Regions from separate parts of the Homo sapiens genome. Here regions 1 and 2 are each linked to region 3. The links are contacts of gene promoters, found by promoter capture Hi-C in blood cells and fetal thymus (Javierre and others, 2016). All regions are on one chromosome and are shown on one strand. The core of a region is centred on a gene start or on the middle of the fragment in contact, and the rest is flanking DNA. Distances in the headings are between cores, read along the strand shown. Region 1 holds the start of LPAR3 (lysophosphatidic acid receptor 3). Region 2 has its middle 15 kb from the start of PRKACB. Region 3 holds the start of LINC01555 (long intergenic non-protein coding RNA 1555).

Region 1 (4,380 bases), core at 667-3,166, 260 kb before region 3:
TTGTTTGTTTATCACTGCTTTTCCTCTCTGAATCTGTTTCTCTGTAACACCTTCTGGCCTTCCCCTCACATCTGACCCATCTAGCTGTTAAAAACCATCTATCTGGAAAGTCTCTTTCCTTTTGCAACACAGCTCCCCATGCCCTCTTCACTTTCCTCCTTTTTTAAGGATTCAGATTCAACTCTGTGGGATCCCTGTTCTGCTTTGCAATTACCTCGAGTTCAGGAAGTTCCCAAGGTACAACATAATGCAACATAATGTGTTTCCCAAGTGCCTTTGTTAGTAAGTTGTTTGGATTCAGAACAGATTTTCCCAGCAAAAGAAGGCTCTTAGTGGTGTTTACAGTCTAGCCTGCAACATCTTACTCAACATACTACACCTTTGTTGCGTCAAGTATTCAGTAAATGCTGGTGGTTGAGTATTTCTGTGTTTACCAGGTTGCCCTTCAGCACCGTGATGTTTGAGCTGAGCTGTTCTCTCCCTTGACAGAGAGAGCTCTTTCCGACCCCCGCCCCTCCGAGACGGAGTCTTGCTCTGTCGCCCAGGCTGGAGTGCAGTGGCGCGATCTCGGCTCACTGCAACCTCCGCCTCCCAGGTTCAAACGATTCTCCTGCCTCAGCCTCCAGAGTAGCTGGGATTACAGGTGCGTGCCACCACGCCCGGCTTTTTGTATTTTTAGTAGAGACGGGTTTTCACCATGTTTGCCACCGAGCTTTTTTATCATATGCAAAGCTTCTGCTTGTAAAAGTAAACACATGATCTTTCTTTAGCCCTAGCTTCGCAAGTTGTACTTCTCTCTACACAGTTCAACTGCAAGACACCGCAATAATTTTCTGAACACTTAGATGAAACAATAATTTTCACATGCTGATGAAAACTTAGCTGTAGCCCCGGGGAGGTTTGAGGCACATTAGGCTATTATGGTCTATAGGATAAGACCCACGGAGTAAGGGACGTAACCTTATTAAAACATCCTCTGCAGAGAAAACAGAATCTCTTTGATGGTAGGGGACAGATTATCTAACAGGTTGTTTGCAAGGATGAGGTTCCTAGCTGGCACACAGAAGGGCGCAGTATTAATGGTGAATGCAAGATGAATGAATGAACGGATGGATGGATGGCAAAGGGTCACAGGAAGACATCTGGGCACACAACTCTCATTGCTTCCTAAGGGCCTGAAGTCTGAGTGGGAAGGACTTCACCTCACAGTATTTCCTTTTTGTAAGGTCACCAGGAAAGCACAACTTTGAACATTTCTGTGACTTCGTTATTGCTTTGCAGAATTCAGAGAGAACAATGCCTTCATGACATTTGTTTTACTTTGCATCTTTCTTCTTTACTAAAGGTGGGTCAGTGGAGGTTTTATATTTCAGCTTTGAAAAACAAAGTATCCAGGACTATTTGCCCCAGGAGGCCAAGAAACCTCTTACAAGAACCTTAAATATTGTTGGTTGCCTCTGGGGGCTGTCCGCACCCTCGGGTAGCTTTGGGGTTGAGGTTTCCAGCGTTAGGTCGGGCTTGGAGTAGAGCCTGCCTCCCACGGGGGTGGTGGGTGTGGGCTGCACTTCCCGCAGCCACTTCAAACAAATCTCTGAGGACAGAGGGGCAGAGGGACTGCGTTCTAATACGGAGCTCCGAGGTATGGCTCCGTGAGGCTTGTGGGTACTAGCGGTCCTTTAGTGGGCGCTTTTCCCTCTCGGGGCCGGCCGACCACCCACCTGGGGACGATCCCAGGCAGGAACGCGTCTGCAAGAGCGCTGCCCTCCCGCGGCTCGCACGGGCCCCTTTGAGCGCAGCTCGCGGCCTTGCAGGTTGGGGACGCTCTCCAGTGGGAACGTCGAACGCACCCGGCGGGGCGGGGCGGGGCAGGGAGGGGCCGCTGTCCCTAGGTCCCTCCCTCGCACCGCCAAACTTTCCTTTGGCTCTGGACGCGTCGCAGGGGTCGCTGGAGAGGAGGCGCTCCGCCCGCCCGCCGCGTCCTCCGCTGCTTCTCCGCGCCCGGCTGGAGCCCGGCGCCCGGTCGCCCCGTCGCGCTCGACCCCGAGGGCATGCGGCAGCCGCAGGGGCCCCCGCTCCCGGGCTCGGCGGCGCGGGTGAACGTGAGCGGTGAGTGAGGGTCCGGGCGCAGGGAGGGTACCCCGAGCCGCAGTCACCAGGGCGTGCGTCGTGGGGAGGCCGGGGCGCAGCGGCGCCTGCAGGGCTCTAGCCTGCGGCTTTTCGGGGTTGCCTGGCGTGCAAGCCTGGGCTCCAGACCCACTCCAAACCCCGGGACAAGACTCTCCCGGCGGGTGTATGGCACAACTTGCTCTTTTCCCACCTTTTTCCCCGCTAGGAGCAAAAAGCAATCTAGATGCAAAATCGGCGTTGCGTCCGCTGCTGAGGGCTGGCGGGCTGGGCGCAGAGGCCAGGAGAGCGCCGCACGGGTTGCGTCTGCCTTTGCACACGTGGTTCTTTCCAAACTCAGTCTCATTGCCATCGATGGTGATTAGGAAACTGGGGTTCTCTCGTGAAGCCTAGGGATATAACATTTTTCAGCCTCCAGTTACATCTGGTACTGTGCTGTGTCCGCTGGGGAACAGCTTGAACCATGTGCAGGCTTCTAGAGATTCGGGAACTAGTAACTAGCAACACTGTCGGGGTTGTTTGTTCAGGGTATGCCCCCTCACCACCACGAGACAAAAGTGCTTTTGTTCTGTAGCAGAGTTACTTTATTGCTTTCCCTCAACAAGTTGCAGCTACACAAAATTGCTTAGAAATTCCGCACGCATGTAATTTGAGGAGTGACTGTGAATATTGGAAACAATTTAGTCTTATTAAGGTAATCATTAAAATGGCCCTGAAAAGCATTTGTAGGTTAGTTTTTATTTATTTATTTATTTATTTATTTATTTATTTATTTATTTATTTTTGAGACACAGTCTCGCACTATCATCCGGGCTGGAGTGCAGTGGCGCGATCTCGGCTCACTGCAACCTCCGCCTCCCAGGTTCGAGCGATTCTCCTGCCTCAGCCTCCCTAGTAGCTGGGATTGCAGGCGCCCACCACCACGCTAGGCTAATTTTTTGTATTTTTAGTAGAGACGGGGTTCCACTGTGTTGGCCAGGCTGATCTCGAACGCTTGACCTCGTGATCCACCCTCCTCAGCATCCCAAAGTGCTGGGATTACAGGTGTGAGCCACTGCGCCCGGCTAGGTCAGTTTTTTAAACTGAGTAATTTCCACGAAATGTTTCCCCCGTAATTTGTTATTGTCATTACAACGCTTTTCTTCCTCCTTTTCCTCCGAAAGTAGCATTACCTGGTCTTGAGATGCCGTTTAGAAATAAAGGGCTTTCTCACGGTTCCAACTTAGTCTGTATCAGAGAATAAAGTAAATGTCAATTACAGACAGACAATCAATCTCCTCTTTACAAATTCCATGTACCGCACAACGTTTCATTAATGCATGGACTTTTGTATCGCTGAGAAGAGTTGCTGGATTTTCCATTGATCCATCAACAGTTGCTAACCCTGCTTTCCATGGGCAGTGGATCTGATATTTAGTGGCCTGAGTCCAGTAAACAGAGTTTTCCTCTTTTTGGGACAGAAGTGATACGGTTAGAAACACACACCTTGGCTCTGTTAACCCCAGGCTTGTCTAAACAAACTGGACTATACTAAAAAGACGAGCGAGCAAACCCTGCCAGTCAGAGTTGTGTACTTGAGATAAGCTTCCAGAGTTGTCTCTTGTGCCTTGAGACAGCAAGGAACTAGTTATCCTGTGGAGATCTGGACGTCTAACTATTTGGACAACACTTACATTGATTGTCACTATCATATAACTAAGAAAATAGGTCATTTTGGCAAAAATTTTTTCTTTGTCTTTAGAATTTGAAACTTTGAGGTTTTGATTTAATTACATATGACACTCCTCTTGTCTAAACCTTTCAATTGCATTTATCAACTACCACTCTTTTTTTTTTTATCAGATCAGACCTATTTTAGATATCTTGCTGTTCTGCAAGATATTTGTTAGAACAGGCCTGCATATGTTTTCTATGAATGGAGACTGAATTTAAAACATTAAAGTATGAGATTGTTTTTCATGTGTGTTCACCGGAATCTGTTTAAGAAACTACAGCATGTTAACTCTCCATCTCATTTTTCAGAAACACACGTGCACAGTGGAAGAAATGCACACACAGCATTGTAGCCAGGCAGCACCCAGACACACACTCTCAACATCACTTATACACACATGCCTAAGGCTGGCTGCTTCTCCCCCAAGTTTCTCAGCCTGCTGCTGAGGAGCAGCAGTGCGTGATAACTTAAGACCCGCCTCTTATTTCTTTGGGCTGGGGCAAGGGGAATCACTATAACTGAAATGGGAATTACTGTACCTC
Region 2 (4,095 bases), core at 1,220-3,719, 510 kb after region 3:
ATCTGCAAATTTGCAGAGTTGCTTTTTTCCCTTTTTTTGATGTTGTTCTAGAGATTTCAGTATATGTACTTCATTTTTCAAAGTCTACTTAGAATTAATTTTTTTTTTTTTGAGATGGAGTTTTGCTCTTATTGCCCAGGCTGGAGTGCAGTGGTGCCATCTCGGCTCATTGCAACCCCTGCCTCCCAGGTTCAACCGATTCTCCTGAGTAGCTGGGATTTCAGGCACGCGCCACCACGACTACCTAATTTTGTATTTTTAGTAGAGAGGGAGGTCTCTCCATGTTGGTGAGGCTGTTCTCAAACTCCTGACCTCAGGTGATCCCCCTGCCTCAGCCTCCCAAAATGCTGGGTTTACAGGCGTGAGCCACCGCACCCAGCTAGAATTAAAATTTTATCACTTCATGGGTAACTTATAAACCTTACAGACATTTGGTTCTCTTTAAAGTCTTCTCCTTCATATTATTAGTTGTTTCCGACCTATACACATTGGAAACCCCAACAGACAATATTGTTAACTTTTTATTTCTACCATTATACATATCTTAATGAACTTAAGAGGAGAAAAAACAATTTATTATATTTATCCAGATATTTATTATTTTTGTTGCTTTCCTTTCCTTCATGAAGTTCCAAGTTTCTCTCTGGTATCACTTATTTTCTGTTTAAATAACTTTCCTTAGCATTTCTTTTAAAGCAGCATTGCTGTTGATGAATTATCTCTTTGGTTTCCAGTAATTTGGTTATATCTTTGGATGTTGTTTTCTTGGCATTCACTAAGCTTCTTCAATCTGTAAATTTATGTCAGTTGCGAAATTTGAGAAGTTTTCAGCCATTACATATTCAATTTTTTTAGAAATTTCTGCAGCAATCTCTTTCCTCTTCTACTGTGATTTCAAAGACCTGTAGGGTTAGACATTTTTATATTGTTTTACAGATTCTTAAGGCTCTTTTCCCTTTATTAAACAAATGTTTTCCTGTTGTTTACAATAGACAATTTCTCCTGATCTTCTGTTCTAATTCACTGACTCTTTTCTGGGTTGTCTCCATTCTTTCTCATAATTTGAGGTACTTGTTTGGTCATTGTTGCTACTGCCACTGACACAGGAGTGCAGTTTTAGGAGTATATCTTGTCTCAAAGCAGGACCAGAAAACAAACAAACAAATGGAATTTCATTGATTTTTTTCCTTGTCACCAGGGATTTCCTTACAGGGTCTCTCATTAGAGAAAGAGAGTTTCTCTTTTTTTTTTTTTTTTTTTTTTTTTGAGACGGAGTCTCGCTCTGTTGCCTAGGCTGGAGTGCAATGGCACGATCTTGGCTCACTGCAAGCTCCGCCTCCCAGGTTCATGCCATCAGCCTCCCCAGCAGCTGGGACTACAGGTGCCCGCCACCACACCCAGCTAATTGTTTGTATTTTTAGTAGAGATGGGGTTTCACCCTGTTAGCCAGGATGGTCTCCATCTCCTGACCTCGTGATCTGCCTGCCTGGGCCTCCCAAAGTGCTGGGATTACAGGCGTGAGCCACAGCATTTTCTGTCTGAATCCACTGTACAGTTCTGGAATTCTGACTGCCTTGAGTCTAAGCTGGAGGATGTAGGAAGAAATTGCTAAAAGCAGGAAATTCACTACTGTATTTGTCTCTTTTCAAGTTTTGATTTCCCTTTCCAATCTTCCTGCTATATTTACTTTTCAAAGTCTTTCTACAGCTACTTTATGTATTCTGTTCAGAATCTTTTTTAGGCATAATCAGTGGGAGGAATAGAGTGATGTGCATTTACTTACTCCATCTTAATTGGAACTAGAAGCTAATCTCATCACTTCTGATTTTAATAATTTAATAATAGATTTAGAAATAAAAAATGTAAAAGATAAAAGTTTTACTTTCAACATGCTTCACCTTAATCTCAGTGTGAAATTGACATACATTTTTCTGAGTAAATCCACAGTAAAGTTGTAGTACTTTTGTCACAGTACTTTATGAGACAAAAAGTTACATGCATACATTTCTTTAAAAAATGTAATTTTTATACAAAATTTCATGATTACTACTATCAAGTATGGTGTCATTATTAATATGAAATTGATTCACTCTTGGCAAACTGATATATTTTCAAATACATAAACAAATTTTCACAATTACACTCCATGTTTTTTATCCTTGAACTCACCAGAATACCTAAAATTATAATAGTAATATATATCTCAAAGTATAGTAAACTAAAAAAGTTTATAATTGTGCTGAATATTAAGCAGTAAGTTAATACAATATGCAAAAACAATGATCTTACTATTCAACATAAAAAGAGATATGGAAATTTATTTAATCTCACAATTCTAATGTAAGAATATTCAATTGCTCAAAACATATGCTGTACATTGAAAGGTAAGTATTCTCTAATTTTTCTTCCAGGAATTCAAATTGCTTTTATTCATATGTTTGAGTCTAGGGTACACTGTCCAATATTATAGTCACTAGTGACACATGGTTACGTAAATTAAAATTAAATAAAATTAAAAATTTAGTTCCTCAGTCACATGAGCCATGATTTCAAGTGCTCAACAGCCACATGTAGCTAAATGGCTACATGTGTAGACAGTGCCAACATCAAACATTTCCATAATCACAGAAAATTACATGGGCAAAACTGGGCAATAGGAACACACATAATGCTGACAGATATGCCACTTTTTAAACTAATCAGTTACCTCTATAATCTTTGGTTTCCTCTTCTGCTGAACGAGATCATTAATAACTTCCCTGACTATATCACTAGTTTTGTGTATGGCTCAACTAAGAGAATATACATAAAATTTCTTTGTAAACTGTATTACATTAATACATCTGATTAATAAATATATGACTATTATTTATTTAAATTAAAGAAAATCAAAGTACACTTCAATATCATATTTTTTCAAATCGTTTTTTAAAAGTCTAAACACTGGAAGCATGCAAACAACCAAACTGTTCAAACAAGATTTTTAAAAACTATTCTGTTATAACATATGAGCATGAAAATCGTGGGTATGCCATAACAATCAATTTCTGCAATTTGGACAGAATGCTATAGACCCAAATGAACAATTCCAGTGAAATCAAGACAATATTGTTCTTCAACATGAAAGCTGTCAGTTCTATGTGTCCTATACTGTCTAAAAATCTTGTATGCTAAAACATCTTTTTTTTTTAATTTTGCTTTTTTGCAGCTAAGGTACATACATTAAAGAAATAATTCTAACCAACATGGTGGAACCCAGTCTCCACTAAAAAGACAAAAATTAGCTGGGCGTGGTGGTGGGCGCCTGTAATTCCAGCTACTCAGGAAGCTGAGGCAGGAGAATTGCTTGGACCTGGGAGGTGAAGGTTGCAGTGAGCCGAGATCACACCATTGCACTCCAGCCTGGGTGACAAGAGTGAAACTCTGTCTCAAAAAAAAAAAAAAAAAAGAAAAAAAAAGAAAAGAAATAATTCTAACAAAGAATAGACTGGAATCTGAGGAATCCTGAGCAAAGCCTCTTTATTTTTTACACAATGTAAAATTTGGCAAATTGGCTTACTTTAAACAAAAAATTCCCACTAAGTACATATTTATCCTTAAAATAATTTTATGATTTAAGTATAGGAAATATTATATTTTCTTCAAAACATAAAATATATTCACTAGAAGTAAAATAAAGTAGTAATCAAGTTAGGAAAACAGTAAATATAGTCAATTGAATGTGTTAGCAAAATAACATTTCAAAAGTCAGAGTCCAACAGAAAATAAGAACTAAATTTATTGTCTATAGCTATCAAATATAAGAAAAAGAAAAAAAACCCGCAAAATTCATATTTATCTCACACAGTAAAAATAGCTCAGTAATGTGCCAGGAATAATTAGACTTTTATGGCAGATGATTAATTGTTTTGAACTCATGCTGTTTACCTAATTAAACTATTAGTAATACCAGCAGGTAAATTAACTTCATACTTCTTTTCTGGAAAGATAGATTTTTAATACTGATACAGTTGAATATCCCTCCTGCAGAGCTGAATACACAAGCATTTTTGTTTTCAATTTTTTTTCTTTCCAACAAAGAAATGCTTTAGCTCA
Region 3 (4,150 bases), core at 1,094-3,593:
GACTTTTCCCAACAACTCTCTGTGCAGAAGCTACTGTTATACTCACTTTATAGATGAGAAAACTGATGCAAAGAAAGGTAAACTTGCCCAGCGCCACATAGCTAACACATGGTGAAGAGGACATGTGAACACCAGGAATCATTTTGTAGCATATTTTCTACTGAATCTGATGAACTTGCAAGTGCCTGATTGCATGCCGCTGACTAGGGGTGTTGCCCGACAGGTCTGGACGGACTGAGCTTGAGAAATGATCAACATGGCCTTTGGCTAGAGATTTACTGCATCCATCCTTGGAAAAGGAAAAGAAAAGAAATGGCCAGTGAAAAGTTCAAATTCTTACTTTGTGGATATAACATGTCCTAGTTGCCACAAGATTACCATGTTTTTCAGCCATGCCCATGAAACCATCTTTGCAAAAATCATAACAATTAAAAAACAATGACAGTGAAAGGGATCTATCTGATCTAACCAACTCCCATCTTGCCTTGAACCTCCGGACTGCCTTAGTCATTCCTGGGCTTGGGCCAAGCTAACTTTGGGAGAAATTTATAGTTTAAATGATAACAGCCCTTCCCCAAAACTAAACCACCTTTGTAAAGCAAATGAAAGACCACCAGGCTAGGTGGATGAGAGGAGCACGAACTCTGCTAAGGGGTAGACCTAAACAATTACAAGCCATTATTCTGGAGGTCACAAGATTTGCAACTTCCCCCAATTACTCCTGCAGATAACATCACTATTGTAGAACCTAAGATTGGTCTTCTGAGATGTCTTTTCAGGCTTTTGTATTTCTGACTACCATGGCTCCACTTGGACCTGCCAACCAGTCCTGTGGCCCCACCAAGAAGCAAATTCTGCACACCCCTCTGATTGCACCCCCAACCAATCAGCAGCACCCATTCCCTTGCCTGCCAAACCATCCTTGAAAAACCCTAGCCTCCAAATTTTCAGGGATGCTGATTTGAGTAAAAATAAGACTCCAGTATCCTGTTCAGCTGCCTCTGTGTGAATTAAACTCTTTCTGTGTTGCAGTGCCTCTGTCTTGATAAATTGGTTCTATATAGGCAGTGGGCAAAATGAACCCATTTGGCAGTTACACTCAGACAGTGGATCTTTGTGTAGGTTCTTCAACAGTGTTGTGCCAGCCTACAGGATGAAACACCAAGCTCACAGAAGAGTGTTCATTTAAAAGAAAGCAACACTAATGATCCACACAACATCCTGAATTTGTTATGTCCCAGAAAGGCTTATCATAAGTTCAGTAATTCTGGTTCATCTACCAAGATAAGTAAGTGTGTTTGATTTTGTAAGGTATGCAGCAGTGATCTCCTATTTTGGTGTTTTTCAATACAATTTTGGTTATGTGCAAATAAAAAATTGATGAAATTTTATTTTCCTTCAATATCAACTTAAATGGTTCTTACATCTATAAAGCTTTTTCTGACTCTGTGGGGAGGCAGTCACAACTCTGCTCTCAGAATTGAACTTTCTCCCTTTTATTCATTCAGCAAATGTTTATTGAGTACTTATTAGGATTGCTATGCTAGGTGCTGGGATTCTAACATGGAAGGTGACTTGGCCATTGCCCTCAGAAACTAACAAACTACTGCGGCAAACAAGCCAATGGGCCACTTAAGGCACCTGAGTAAGTGCTCCAATAAAGGTTTTGGAGGGCTCTGAGGCAGGGAAGAGGGGGAGAAGCATGTTTAGCCTGCGGAATAGGAGGTCAGAGAGGATGCTTGAGTTAAGTATTGAAGAGGGAACAGAACATACAAGATCAGAGGTATGAAACCAAATGACCTCCAGGGAAATTACAAATAGCTTTGTAAGAACAAAGTGGTGTGGGAGAACAGTGGGAGGGGTAGAGAGGAGCCAGGTTAAAAGGGTCTCAGATTCAAGAAGTTTTGAACTTACCCTGAAGGCTTAGTGATGTGCTTGGTCAAGCACAACTGTGACCCAGAGTGTTCCCTCTCTCTCCTTGTCATAGCATTGTGAGTATACCTCTATTAAAGCATTTATTACAAATGCTTTAACTGCATATCCTTCTGTCATAGCATTTATCACAATTCTAATTCCATATGGAGAACTGCTGAAAAGAAAGCAAAGTGGAGATGATACCAGGTTGCAGTAATCCAAGCAAGAAGTGATTGAGAGGAATGCATGTTCCTACAGGTAGACTCTGATTGGATGTCGGTGTTAAGTAAAACAATCTCTGGCTCAGATAGCGGTGGATGAAAGGGCTTACAGAAGAACAGCTTTAGGGGATTGAGCAGGAAATAGTCTAGTCAGCAGACCTGGGTTGCCTGTGTGTTAACCCAGCAAAGGTCTGTCTTCAGGACTGGAAAATGACCTCTGAGTCTTACACATTCTGCCTGCTAAGAGTGATTTTGCATGCCTGAGGCCTCGGGCCATGCTGTACCGGTGTGACTAGGTAAGTTTATCCTAACAATGTGATTTATGGTGAATGCCTTTTTTGCCTGTGGGCTGGAGTCTGAGTAGCTGAGATCAGTCACCTGGGTAGGCACTGCATACCTACCTGATGACCCCCAATAAAAACAATAAAAATCCTGAGCACCAAGTCTTGGGTGAACTTCTGTGGCAACACTTCACATGTATTGTCACATATTGCTGTGACTCCACTGGGAGAGGATACCTGGAAGTTTGTGCTTGCTTTTTCCAAGACTTTGCTCAGGTGCCTGCCCCTTTGCTGATTTTAATCTGTAACCTTTTGCGGTAATAAATCATGACCATAAGTATAACAGCTTTTCTGAGTCCTGTGAGTCTTTCTAGTTCATGTGAGTTCATCAAGCTTAAGGGTGATCTTAGGGACCCCTGACACAGGGATAATGAATTGTTCTGGACATATTGAATTTAAGGGTCTCTGAGCCATTCAAGTTCGTGTGGATGAACTTGGGTTTTTATTAGGGTTCCTCAGGTAGGTATGCAGTGCCTACCCATGTGAATGCCTACTGTTGGCAATTGGATATATAAGTTTGGAGCTCAACAGAGAGGTCTGGGATAGATATTGAGATCTGAGAGCCAATACATAAGTGGCTGTTGAAGCTAGGGGCATACATGAGGTCACAAAAAAGAGACAGATGGTAGAATGAGAAGCAGAAGGTAGAGACTTGGGTATCACTGGCATTCAAAAATCAAATGTGCAGGTATGGTGGCACATGCATATAGTCCCAGCTACTTGGGAAACTGAGGCAGAAAGTTTGCTTGAGCCCAGGAGTTCAAGGCAGCAGTGAGCTATGATCACACCACTGCACTCCAGCCTGGCCAACAGAGTGAGACCCTGTCTCTACTTCAGAAAGAAAAAAGAGAAAAGAAAAAGAAAAAAGAAAAGGCAAATATGGAAGAAAAGGCTCTTTTATGGAGTGAAGAGACAGAGAGTTGAGAGTCAATATCAAGAAGATATCAAGGCCAGGCATGGTGGTTCTTGTCTGTAATCCCAGCACTTTGGGAGGCGGAGGCAGGTGGATTGCTTGAGCCCAGGAGTTTGAGACAAGCCTGGGCAACATAGTGAAACCCTCCCTCTATAAAAAATACAAAAATTAACTAGGCATGGTGGTGTGCTTGTAGTCCCAGTTACTCAGAAGGCTGAAGCGGGGATCACTTGAGCCCAGGAGGTCAGGTTGACGCTGCAGTGCAGTGGTGATAGCACCGCTGCACTCCAGCCTGGGTGACAGAGCAAGACCCTGTCTCAAAAAAAAAAAAAAAAAAGCCACCCTTAGGAAGGAGAGAATTCCAAGGAAGTTCAAATGTTATAAAGAAAACAATATATAGAAAAACGCTGGCAGTATTGTGGTCATTAGTAACTTTAAGGAGGGTTCCTCTGCATTTCCTAAGTTAATTTAACCAATATTTATTGAGTACCTGCTGTGTCCCGAGCCCTCATGAACTCAGTATAAAAGGAGACACCCAGGTAATTGATTGTATCTTGAGTGGATATCTCCCTGGAGAGAGTGCAGCAGAGGGGAACTCCTCAGTACCTCATGAGAGTGGGAGGATGGTTTTGTGTCCTGAGCTGTATCTTAAAGGATAAGTAGGAGTGAACCAGGAGGGATATGTCCAGGGCACCACTCACAGTGGGGTTTTGGGTAGCATAAAAGGCAAAGCAGGGGACCAGACACCAGACCAGCAAGAT

Evidence for each region. The method cuts DNA at HindIII sites, captures the fragments that hold promoters and counts their contacts. A CHiCAGO score of 5 or more calls a contact.
Region 1: the fragment with the promoter of LPAR3 here is called in contact with the fragment with the promoter of LINC01555 in region 3 in 9 of 17 cell types (activated CD4 T cells, naive CD8 T cells, total CD8 T cells and 6 more); the score reaches 7.7 in activated CD4 T cells.
Region 2: a contact is called between a fragment that was not itself captured here and the fragment with the promoter of LINC01555 in region 3, in 3 of 17 cell types (erythroblasts, M0 macrophages and M2 macrophages). The highest score is 7.8, in erythroblasts.

The regions. Positions count from the first base shown.
Region 1 is chr1:84,890,742-84,895,121 of GRCh38, reverse strand. LPAR3 (lysophosphatidic acid receptor 3) reads left to right here and starts at 1,916. Exons shown (of 3, transcript NM_012152.3): 1 at 1,916-2,106. The HindIII fragment of the contact is 2,976 bases long and covers 735-3,710 here.
Region 2 is chr1:84,127,361-84,131,455 of GRCh38, reverse strand. It overlaps a transcript of PRKACB not described here. Among named protein-coding and RNA genes, the nearest start is that of PRKACB, 15 kb to the left of the region's middle. The HindIII fragment of the contact is 3,373 bases long and covers 783-4,095 here.
Region 3 is chr1:84,633,213-84,637,362 of GRCh38, reverse strand. It overlaps LINC01555 (long intergenic non-protein coding RNA 1555), which reads left to right and starts at 2,343. Exons shown (of 3, transcript NR_027379.1): 1 at 2,343-2,431. LOC124904206 (a long non-coding RNA gene) reads right to left here. Exons shown (of 5, transcript XR_007066196.1): 4 at 1,915-2,089; 5 at 204-289. The HindIII fragment of the contact is 1,375 bases long and covers 1,437-2,811 here.